Linked DNA regions of Homo sapiens: region 1 is linked to region 2. The links are contacts of gene promoters, found by promoter capture Hi-C in human tissues and cell types (Jung and others, 2019). All regions are on one chromosome and are shown on one strand. Each heading gives the region's core, a stretch centred on a gene start or on the middle of the fragment in contact. The rest is flanking DNA. Distances are from core to core; before and after follow the strand shown.

Region 1 (5,573 bases), core at 2,794-5,293, 610 kb after region 2:
CAATCGCTGAGGTCCCAGTACAGGTCTTGGGGTCTTGTCTGTGTCTCCCCTCCCCTCCTGTCCTCTTGTCTGCGTCTTCCCTCCCCTCCTGTCCATGGGTGCTGCCTCCACACCTCAAGGCCTCTCTTACATGCTTCACAGATGGATGCCTGGTCCCATGTGGGTGTGGCTCGAAGGTCCCTCTTGCTGCTAGAGTGCTCTCTTCATGAGTGGCAGTGATACTCAAGTTTGTCAAACAGACACATTTCTGACAAGTGCACAAACTGGGTTTTGGGTTTTTTGAGACAGGGTCTTGCTCTGTTGCCCAGGCTGGAGTGCAGTGGCACAATCTCAGCTCACTGTAGCCTAGACCTCCGAGGCTCAAGCGATCCTCCCACCTTGGCCTCCCAACTACCCAGGACTACAGGTGCATACCACCATGTCTGGCTAATTTTTGTAGAGACAGGATTTCACCATGTTGCCCAGTCTGGTCTCAAACTCTTGGGCTCAAGTGATCCACCCTCCTTGGCCTTCCAAAGTGCTGGGATTACAGGTGCGAGCCACCACGCCTGGCCAAATTGGGTTTTTATAAATGAAAATTGTGCTTCCCCAGTGGAACCCTGATCTCTCAGGGGTGTGTTTTTTAAATTTGAAACATATTTTTTTTTAGTTTCTCTGTCCCATTTTCCAAGCTGTCTGCTTACAAGAACCACAGAGAATGCTGGCAAGCTTGTCCGATCCCTACTATAGCACAGTGAAATAAACTGAGCCCAGAGCCAAGAGCCCAGAGAGAGGCCTCACCCAAAGTCACACAACCAACAACCACAGCTCCCCCTCAAGGGAAAGAGGATGGGGAGGGGAAGCTATGTAAGCACGTGTCTGGAAGCTCAGAAGCCAGCACTGGCCCCTTTCCCATGGGGCTGGCACAGGAGGATGGGCAAGCCCCAGCTGCACAGGGCTCGGCCCCTCACTTCCCAGCTGCACAACTTTGAACAAGTCCCTCAACCCTCCCGATCCATCCGTAAATTGGGTGAATAATTTCCACCTTGGCTGACTTCACAAGGAATCCAGGCAAGAATGGGAATGAAATAGCTTTGTAAAGGTGAGGGTGAGGACATGAATATCAAGTCCTTAGTGAAGATAAGCGGGCTCAGGAATGGAGATCAACAGTTGTGTCCATGGTTAGCTGCACAAAGGCCTGTCTCCCCTGCAGGCGCCAGGAGCGACAGCGCTTTGCTGAGTACCAGGCGGAGCTGCAAGGCATCCAGCACAGGGTGCAGGCCCGGCCCTTCCTGTTCCAGCAGGCTATGCAGGTGAGGCTGGCACCTGGGCAAGCACATAGCTGCCCCCTGTGAAGAGCTGGCTGAGTGGGTAGGGAAGCAGGATGCGAGTAGGTCCCTGCAGATAGGATCCCAGGGCTGCTGCCCTCTGGAATCCCTGGGACCCCCTCAGTAACCCGATCCCCACCTTGCCCTCGGCAGCCCTGGTGCAGAGCAGGAAGCCGTCTTCTCTCTCCTCAGGCCAATGCCCGGCTCACCGTCACTCGGCGCTTCTCCCAGGTGCTGTCAGCACTGGGGCTGGATGAGGAGCAGCTGCTGTCTGAGGCAGGAAAGGTGGACAGAGAGGGCACCCCCAGGAAACCCAGGTGAGTCTCCCCGTCAGGTCAAGAACTGACTCTGCCATGCTGCTGCGGGAAGGGGCGCCCACACCAGCACTCTGGGCTCTGGAGGGCCTCCCCCAGGACAGGCAGAGAGCCCAGAGGAAGGCAAGGCCAGGGTTGTCATTCCTACTTCTCAATGAGGAAACTAAGGACCTGAGGGGAAGGGCCTTCTTTAAGGACGCAGGAGCGAACAAGCAGCAGAACCAGTCTGGGACTCTGCAACCATCTGAGCGGCCACACACCAAGTCCCTCATTAGGGGCTGGCACCACCACGCTGGTCACCCCATGCCTTAGAATAACCTGGTACAGAGCAGCGATTATGAAGCCCACTTGACAATAAGGAAAGTGAGACTCGAGAAGAGTCACTTTGCCCAGGATCACACAGCAAGCCGGCACTGAAGCAGGGTTTGAAGCCACATTGTCAGTGGTTTCCTTGGGCATGGGGGTGGGAGCTGCAGAGTCAGGGGCCTCTATCTGTGTCTTGAAGGAGCCACAGGTCAATGGGGGTGAGAATGGAGCACTCTCCTCAGAGGCCCCCAAGGACAGAACCCACCGGCAGCCAGCCTGACAGGCACTACAACCCCAGCCTGGACCCGGAGTGCAGTCCCTGAGATAAAATTAAAGGCTTTATGGCAAACACAGTATGAGATTTCTGGTGGTGGGGGTGGTGGAAGCTACGGGTTGGAAGTTGGAGGTGGCAGGTGGGTGGGCAGCAGGCTTAGCTCTGTCCCCGCACCCCCTCCCCACCAGGAGCTTTGGCTCTTTTGGTTCCCCCCACCCAGTACACACAGCCCCTTCTCTGCTCCTGAGGAGTGGGGACATCTCAAAGAGCAAGAGCTGTGACTTCTCCACCCCATCTCCAATGTATATGTTGGGTCCTATAAATTCAAGCATGAATAAGATGAAATGACTCCTGCCTCTGAGGACGCCCAGTGAGTGGGAGAGGGGGTGGATCCTTAAAGGGGCGCATACAACATAGCCTAACACATGCTGAGTTGTGCCACACAGGGAGCCACAGACTGAGCAACCACTGGGTGAGGGGAGGGGTTTCAGGAGAGATTGGGATTGTGTGCACTGCGCTTTTTTTTTTTTTTTTTAAGACAGAGTCTCGCTCTGTCACCAGGCCGGAGTGCAATGGTGTGATCTCAACTCACTGCAACCTCTGCCTCCCAGGTTCAAGCGATTCTCCTGCCTCAGCCTCCTGAGTAGCTGGGACTACAGGTGTGCGCCACCACACCCAGCTAATTTTTGTATTTTTAGTAGAGACGGGGTTTTACCATGTAGGCCAGGATGGTCTCGATCTCTTGACCTCGTGATTCGCCTGCCTTGGCCTCCCAAAGTGCTGGGATTACAGGCGTGAGCCACCGCGCCCGGCCTGCACTGGGGTTTTAAGTCCCAATAGTTTTAAGTTAGGGCTGGTCTCCTCAAGAAAAAAACTCATACACACAGATGTGCCACATTTTGCATTCAATTTCAGGGGTTCCAGGGATACACTGACGCCCATGTGGAGCTCCTAAACAATCTTAACAGTTCACGGGGCCAGGTTTTAAAAATCCAATCCAGGGCCAGGCGCAGTGGCGCATGCCTGTAATCTCAGCACTTTGGGAGGCCAAGGCGGGTGTATAGCCTGAGCTCAGGAGTTCGAGACCAGCCTGGCCAACATAGTGACCCCACCCCCTACCCCCGCTCCCCACCAACCATCTACAAAAAAATACAAAAATTAAAGGGGCGTGGTAGCGTACTCTCGTAGTCCCAGCTACTGGGAAGGCTGAGGTGGGAGGATCACTTGAGCCCAGGAGGTCGAGGCTGCAGTGCGCTGTGATCACGCCACTGCACTCCAGCCTGAGCAACAGAGTGAGATCCTATCTCAAGGGAAAAAACAAAACAAAACAAAACAGGGAACGTGGGAAGGAAGCGTTCCCTGACGATACTGGTTATAGCGGGTCTGAAGCTGGGCTGTGGAATTGGAGATCTCGGGAAAACAACACCCGTTGGAGCCACGACCCTAGGAGTCCACTAAGCGAGCGCCCATTGTAGGAGGGAGGTGTCTACGGAAAGACCGTGAGGTAGTGAACACCCCGTTGCCGGTGAAGTGCAAGCGCAGGGAGGCCGGGGAGGAACTTAAAGCCACGAAGACACTGACTTAATGGGCTCTAAGTCCTTCCAGTTCTGGGATCCCACCTCCGGGTTAATTCCGCTTCCCTTGAGGAGCGCATGCGCAATGGGACCACTCGCTCAAAGAACCCACCCGACCCGAGACGGCGCGAATGTGCAGTCGAGCGCTGATCCCGGCCTTCCCATGAGCCTCTGGGGCAGGCTCCAAGGCGAGCGACGGAAGCAGCCGCTCTTAGTTTCCGGCAACACGACAGCGGCTGCCGAGCGACCCGGAAGTATTCCCATTTTGCGTTGTCTGGGCTCGGCGGCAGCCGGGCTCGGAGTGGACGTGCCACTATGGGGTCGTCCAAGAAGCATCGCGGAGAGAAGGAGGCGGCCGGGACGACGGCGGCGGCCGGCACCGGGGGTGCCACCGAGCAGCCGCCGCGGCACCGGGAACACAAAAAACACAAGCACCGGAGTGGCGGCAGTGGCGGTAGCGGTGGCGAACGACGGAAGCGGAGCCGGGAACGTGGGGGCGAGCGCGGGAGCGGGCGGCGCGGGGCCGAAGCTGAGGCCCGGAGCAGCACGCACGGGCGGGAGCGCAGCCAGGCAGAGCCCTCCGAGCGGCGCGTGAAGCGGGAGAAGCGCGATGACGGCTACGAGGCCGGTGAGGAGGCGGGGCCTGCGCAGGGGGCGGGTCGGGCGGGGGTCCCGGAACGCGTGGGTCTGGGTGTGCGCGCAGTGTCAGCGAAGCTCTTCAGGCCAGGAAACCCCCAAGCTGTTTACCAGCTCTATTAAATAGTCTTTCTACGGGATCCCTTGAGCCCAGGAGTTAGAGGCTGCAGTGAGCTGCGGTCCCGCCAGTGTACTCCAGCCTGGGCAACAAAGCGAGACTCTGTCTCAAAAAGAAAAAAGTCTTTCTACGGTTGTTTAGGATTAGAGGTTGACTTTCTCCACTCAGCTGCTTGAGGACAGAGGGCTTCTGTTTTCCTCAGTTGTCTGGTACAATCAGATTCTCAATAAATATGTTGAATGAGTGAATGAAGTAGTGTCAGCATATACAGAGGCAAGAAAAACCTGGTATTGGACGAATCGTGTAGGGCGCATGGTAGAGAAATGAGGGAGTAAGATAGACAGGGATGTGAACACAAAGGACCCTGTACTGTAGTCTCTGTTAAGAACTGTAGATTGTCTTGAGGATAGTAGGGAGCCATGGATGTGAGTTGAGGAGTGAGTTGCTCAGATCCGTATTTTGTAAACATCACTGGATTGAGAATTTAGTCAAAGGTAGTCAGGACTGGAGACCAGGAAACCAGGAGGGCTATAGGCCAGGGGAGGGCTGATGGTGGCCTGCACCAAGGCAGCAGCAGTGGGATTGAGAGAAGTGGACAGGTTGGAGAGGTGTTTTGGAGGAGGAATGAACAGAACTCAGCACTTGTATGAGGGTGGGAAGAAGGAATGGAGGATGACTCCTTGAATTTTGGCTTGAGCAGCCAGATAGGTAGTGGGTGTCATTTCTACTGAAATTGAGGAGTAGGGAAGAGAAGCAGATTTGGAGCGGGGGTGGGGGGAGATAGTTCACTTTTGGGGTTGTCAAGGTTGATGGTAATGGGGAAATCCAGAGTTTGGACTGGATAAAGCCATTGGGAGTCAGTATCTGGGTGGCCAGTGAAGCCCCTGAAAGACTGTGACATGAGAAGAGGGGGTCAGGACTAGAACCTGAGAAATGCCCTTATGTTAGTAGTAGGCAGAGAAAGATGTTACCAAAAAAAGGAGACAGAGTAACCAAAAAGGCAGGAAAACCTTTGTGTCATGGGAACTTTGGGAAGAGAGTATT
Region 2 (5,550 bases), core at 110-2,609:
AATTAATAAGCAAACTAATGACATCACCATGGGACACACACAAAAGTTCTTGCAGGAGCAGGGTCTGTGTGGCTTCAGTTGCCTGCAGCGCTCCCAGGCCAGAGCAAGTGCTCTAGGATCTGAACTGCCCGCAGTGCAGCCCTGCAGCCTTTCCCAGGGCACGTTGATGTGCACACAGTTTCCCTGAAGGCAAAGTGAACATGTGGAGAGCTTACGTGGCAGCGCGTATGTCTTCAGTGTGTGTTTTAGAAGTCCAACTGTTGTTTTTATGTTTTTAAAGGAAAGATTTGAATCAAGCAGTTATGGGCCCCCTGAAGTATCCTTTTTTCTAGAACATTCTGAAAGTCATCCTTGCCTATGGGAAGCCTAGGCCGGCCTGCACTGTTATGTTCAATAAATAAGCAGGGTGCTCTGGGCTGGGGATTGTGTGAGGAGCAGAGCGCAGCCCGTCCTCATGCTTTTCCACTGAAGTAGGCCAGGCAGAGAGGGAGTACAGCAATGGATGCGCTTTGGCAGCTGAGTAGTCCGAGAGCCAGAAAAGAAATGTGGAAAATAAGAACGCTGTAGCAGGCCTAGGTGAGGAAATTTAGGAAGGGTTTGCGGGAGGTAGGATTTGAGATGGGTCTTGGAGAGTTGGACAGTGTCAGCCGGTAGGACGGGGGTGCGGACGGAAGCCTGTGAGGAAGGCAGAGGATGCGGAGCTGTGAGCGGAGGGAGCAGCGAGGCTGGAGAGCAGCTGGGCTGCGGGTCAAGACGTCTGCGTTTAATTCGGGACTGAAGGTTAGCAGGGAAGGGAACGATGCCAGATCTTGAGTTTAAGAACTTGAATCTTGTAAAGTACCAAATCTAATAAAATACTCGTCCTAAATCATTACTGGCCCAAGCATGCAGTGTTTCCGTGGCCGACAGACTCGAGCCAGCGCTGTCCATGGTAACCAGCTTTTGTGTGGCTTAAAGCTTGCATCCATTTTCTCCTTTCATCGTTTTCCCAAAACAATTCCGTGAGGGCTGTTAGCCCTGCTTGGTAGACGAAGAAGCCGATGCGGTCTAGGGTCACGGCCAGGGAGGCTTTGGGACGCCAAGTCAGCTCGGCGGTCACCACACCACCTACAGGGCTCGTCGGGCCCTCGGGGTCGGCGGCTGCTGGAGGCGCCCAGGGGAGTCCTGCTGGTTCCTGGCTCCGCCTCCCGCCCCTCCGCGCTAGAAGCCCCGCCCCCAGAGGGGCTCGACGAACCGCCACTTCCGCAACGTCCAATGAAACTTAGCCGGGGGAGGGACGGGGCGCCACTGAGGACCAATCTGCTTGGGCCGGGGCGGGGCTGCGGCGGGTGGGTGCAGAGGGGCCGCACCGCGGACTTCGCAGCCGGGAGAGAGCCCGGCGCGGGCGGCGCGCACGGGACTCTGCTGTGCGCGCGCCCGCCCGCCCGCCGTCCGCGCAGGCCCTCGGTCCGCTCTGCCCTCGGGGTCGTGGCGCCCATCCCTCCCCTGTTCTGCTGTCGCCGCCCGGACAGGGGCTCGGGAGCCGGGCTGGGGGCAGGGGCTGGAGCCGCGGGACCAGCGCCTGAGGTGGGTGCGGAGCGGGAGGCCGGGCGGGCGGGCGCCTGGGGCCGCCCCGCCGACATACTCCGGGTCGAGGGGGAGTGACCGGCCAGGGCACGGAGTCCGGCTGCCGGCCTGCCTGGGTCCGGGCGTTCGTTCCCGCGCCCTGGGACCCTCCCAGGCCACCACCCTCCCCGCGGGGACACCCCGCCCCTCCGCTGCCCGCAGCCTCCTCAGGCCTCCCGCCCTTTGTCGCTCGTGCACCTGCGCCCTCGGCCCTGCCCTCTCGCTCCCCTCAGGACTGACCGTCGCCTAGCCTCCCTCTCAGGACCCGGCACCAAATTAGCCTCGCTCCTTCAGACACCCTCTGTCCCCTTTGTCGTCTGTACACCTGTCACCTCAACTCTGTGTGCATCCACCCACCTCCCACCCCCCAGCGGCGTCATCTGAATCCAGCCCAAGCCGCCTCCCACTCCCTCCCGGGGGCTCCTCCCCCGCAGCCCCGTAGCCCCACACCTGCCCCCTCGGCCCCAGTCCCAGGCCCTCCCCCGTCCGTATGCCTTTGTTATCTCTGCAGCTGTCCCCTGCACTTTTCATCCTTCTTCCCGAGTGAGGCCAGACCCCAGCCCAGACTCCCCTGTCCTTCTGAGTGGAGAGACGCCCCCTCCCCAGCTCTGCCCTGGCATCCTGGGGACGGGGCCAGCCGGCTTCCACTCGGCCTAGCCACTTCCTCTTTCAGCGGGTCCAGTCTCACCCGGTGCCTGCGCAAGTCCTCATCTAATCTCTTTTCCCTCCTGCGCTCCTTTCCTAGCTCTTCCGGCCTCAGATTACTCTACCCGCTCAATCTTTCCTCCCCGCACAGGTGCCCCGGAGAGGCCATGGAGCTGAGCAGCAAGAAGAAGCTTCACGCCCTGTCCCTGGCCGAGAAGATCCAGGTGCTGGAACTCCTGGATGAGTCCAAGATGTCCCAGTCGGAGGTGGCCCGGCGCTTCCAGGTTTCCCAGCCCCAGATCTCGCGCATCTGCAAGAATAAGGAGAAGCTGCTGGCGGACTGGTGCAGCGGCACAGCCAACCGAGAGCGCAAGCGCAAGCGGGAGTCCAAGTACAGCGGGATCGACGAGGCTCTGCTCTGCTGGTACCACATTGCCCGGGCCAAGGCCTGGGACGTGACGGGGCCCATGCTGCTCCACAAAGCCAAGGAGCTGGCCGATATCATGGGCCAGGACTTCGTGCCCAGCATCGGCTGGCTGGTCCGCTGGAAACGCCGAAACAACGTCGGCTTTGGGGCCCGCCATGTTCTTGCGCCTTCATTCCCCCCTGAGCCACCTCCCCCGGGGCTCACATCCCAGGCTCAGCTGCCTCTTTCCCTAAAAGACTTCTCTCCAGAGGACGTGTTTGGCTGTGCTGAATTGCCCTTGCTGTATCGGGCAGTGCCCGGCAGCTTTGGTGCATGTGATCAAGTACAGGTGCTGCTGTGTGCCAACAGCAGGGGCACCGAGAAGCGGCGGGTACTGCTGGGTGGGCTCCAGGCTGCCCCGAGATGCTTCTTTGGGATCCGCAGTGAGGCTCTGCCTGCCTCCTACCACCCGGACCTGGGCATCCCCTGGTTAGAGTGGTTGGCACAGTTTGACCGGGACATGGGACAGCAGGGCCGACAGGTGGCTTTGCTGCTGGCTGCCCGAGTGGTGGAGGAGCTGGCAGGCCTGCCTGGGCTCTACCACGTGAAGCTCTTGCCTCTGGCCGCCTCTAGCACCACGCCTCCCCTGCCCAGCTCAGTGGTCCGGGCCTTTAAGGCCCATTACCGACACCGGCTGTTGGGCAAACTGGCTGCCATCCAAAGCGAGAGGGATGGCACCTCGCTGGCCGAGGCCGGGGCAGGCATCACCGTGCTGGACGCCCTGCACGTGGCGTCTGCCGCCTGGGCCAAGGTGCCTCCTCAGCTCATTTTCAGCAGCTTCATTCAAGAAGGGCTGGCTCCCGGCAAAACGCCCCCGTCCTCGCACAAAACCTCTGAGATGCCACCAGTCCCCGGCGGGCTGAGCCTGGAGGAGTTTTCCCGCTTTGTGGACCTGGAGGGTGAGGAGCCAAGGTCTGGAGTATGTAAGGAGGAGATAGGCACTGAAGACGAGAAGGGGGACAGAGAGGGTGCCTTTGAGCCCCTGCCCACCAAAGCTGATGCCCTCCGGGCCCTGGGCACCTTGAGGAGGTGGTTTGAATGCAACAGCACTTCTCCTGAGCTATTCGAAAAATTCTACGACTGTGAGGAGGAGGTGGAGCGGCTTTGCTGCCTATGAAGGCGCCTTCACTGCTTGCCAGAGCCCCTTCCTCTCTTGTTTCCCATGGAAACGGCCTCTTCAGAAGGCAGATCGGGCTGTCTCTTTCCTGTGGAAATAGAACTGTCGTAAAGGTGTAGAAGGGAGAGAAGTTGGGACACCAAGTCTGAGCTTGGAGTGGCAGTCGTCCAAACCCCAGGAAGAGAGCTCTAAAGATGGGGCTTCGGGGGTAGGAATCCAGGATGCTTAGTTTCTAGACCCTGCTTGAAAGTTCTAGAGCCTTTGAAAGGGAGTTAGTCTAGAGGCAGCCACTTAGAAAGGTGGAATTTGGGCTTTTTGGACAGACTGCTTCCTTGAACTTTGTGTTAAAAACAGTTCTGCTTCTGAAAATAAAGTTTTTAATCAGAAAAGAGGCCAGGGTGTTATTTTCATGGGAGAAGGGTAAACATTTTCCATTCAGATTTGGAAAATTAATTGCTGATGGTCACTGCGGTGCAGCTGTCTGTCCATGACCAGTAGGGATCCTCCTTTTCCAGATATTCAGCAGCAAGGACTCTCAGGGTGTGGGCACTGCTTGTGGGCTACCCTCCTGAGAGGGAAGCTCCAGGACAGACAGATCCCAGCTACTGCCCCAGATAAGCTGCAGCTCCAATAGTTTCGCTCTCAGATTGTGTGTGTTTGGGGTTGGGCAGGCTACGGACATGTCAGGGAAACAGAAAGGAGCCGGAATTGGAATGGAATAGTCATTCATTCTTTCTTTTTTTTTTTTCATTTGCTTATTTCACAACATCACTTCAGCAAGACCTCCTATGTGAACAAGGTTGCAAAGATGATGTCTCTTCTGGACAGAACCTTGCAGCCAATGACAGTGGAGTGTGATTAAGGCTGTGATAACGGCTGTGCAAAGTGCCTGGCCCCATAGAGCTAGGGAGACTCCAGGGGGAGGTGAGCTTTGAGCTGCAGTTTGAAGGGCGTCCCAGGCCAAGGGACAGCGTGTGCAGAGTCTGATTGGAGTGAAGGAGCACAGTGTGCTGGGGGCGGGGGCAGGCAGTTCTGCCAGAGCATAGCATACTTGCGGAGGTAGGGGCAGAGTACAAGGAGAGACCTGGAGAGTAGGAAGGGCCTTTAGCCAACCAGGCTTAGGGGTAGGACACCATCAGAGGGTTTTAGGTAGGCAGGAACAAGTCATTCTTGGGGTTCTAGAATAACGGAGTCTGTGTAGGGTGTGTCAAAGATGTGAAACCTAGAGGCAGAGAGCCTCTGACTGATCCAGGTGAGAGAAGGTGAAGCGTGAGCCAGATCCTGGGAGTAGGATGTAAAGAAAATGGTTTACCAGCAGGGCGCGGTGGCTCACGCCTGTAATCCCAGCACTTTGGGAGGCCGAGGTGGGTGGATGACCTGAGGTCAAGAGTTTATAAGACCTGCCTGGCCAACATGGTGAAACCCCATTTCTACTAAAAATATAAAAACTAGCCGGGCGTGGTGGCACATGCCTGTAATTCCAGCTTCTCAGGAGGCTGAGGCAGGAGAATCGCTTGAACCCGGGAGGTGGAGGTTGCAGTGAGCCAGGATGGTGCCACTGCACTCCAGCTTGGGCAACAAGAGTGAAACTCACTCAAAAAAAAAAAAAAAAGAAAAGAAAAGAAAATGGTTTTACCTGGAAAGGATATGGGCTTTGGACGCAGATAGACTCTAGCTGGTAAAAATACAAGCTGCAGGCCGGGCACAGTGGCTCATG

The links. Contacts are between HindIII fragments. The study calls those that stand out against the background at their distance.
Region 1: a contact is called between the fragment with the promoter of SART1 here and the fragment with the promoter of TIGD3 in region 2, in 1 of the 25 tissues and cell types used here (spleen).

What each region holds. Positions count from the first base shown.
Region 1 is chr11:65,957,691-65,963,263 of GRCh38, forward strand. It overlaps SART1 (spliceosome associated factor 1, recruiter of U4/U6.U5 tri-snRNP), which reads left to right and starts at 4,044. Exons shown (of 20, transcript NM_005146.5): 1 at 4,044-4,403. The coding sequence starts at 4,091. It overlaps TSGA10IP (testis specific 10 interacting protein), which reads left to right. Exons shown (of 8, transcript NM_152762.3): 6 at 1,193-1,292; 7 at 1,500-1,624; 8 at 2,127-2,276. The coding sequence ends at 2,250. RefSeq lists an enhancer at 3,902-4,689. The HindIII fragment of the contact is 22,503 bases long and covers 1-5,573 here.
Region 2 is chr11:65,353,392-65,358,941 of GRCh38, forward strand. TIGD3 (tigger transposable element derived 3) reads left to right here and starts at 1,360. Exons shown (of 2, transcript NM_145719.3): 1 at 1,360-1,566; 2 at 2,402-4,222. The coding sequence starts at 2,418. The coding sequence ends at 3,833. It overlaps DPF2 (double PHD fingers 2), which reads left to right. Exons shown (of 11, transcript NM_006268.5): 11 at 1-871. RefSeq lists silencers at 1,088-1,147, 1,238-1,557, 1,578-1,637, 1,648-1,817, 1,878-2,067. The HindIII fragment of the contact is 4,951 bases long and covers 1-4,597 here.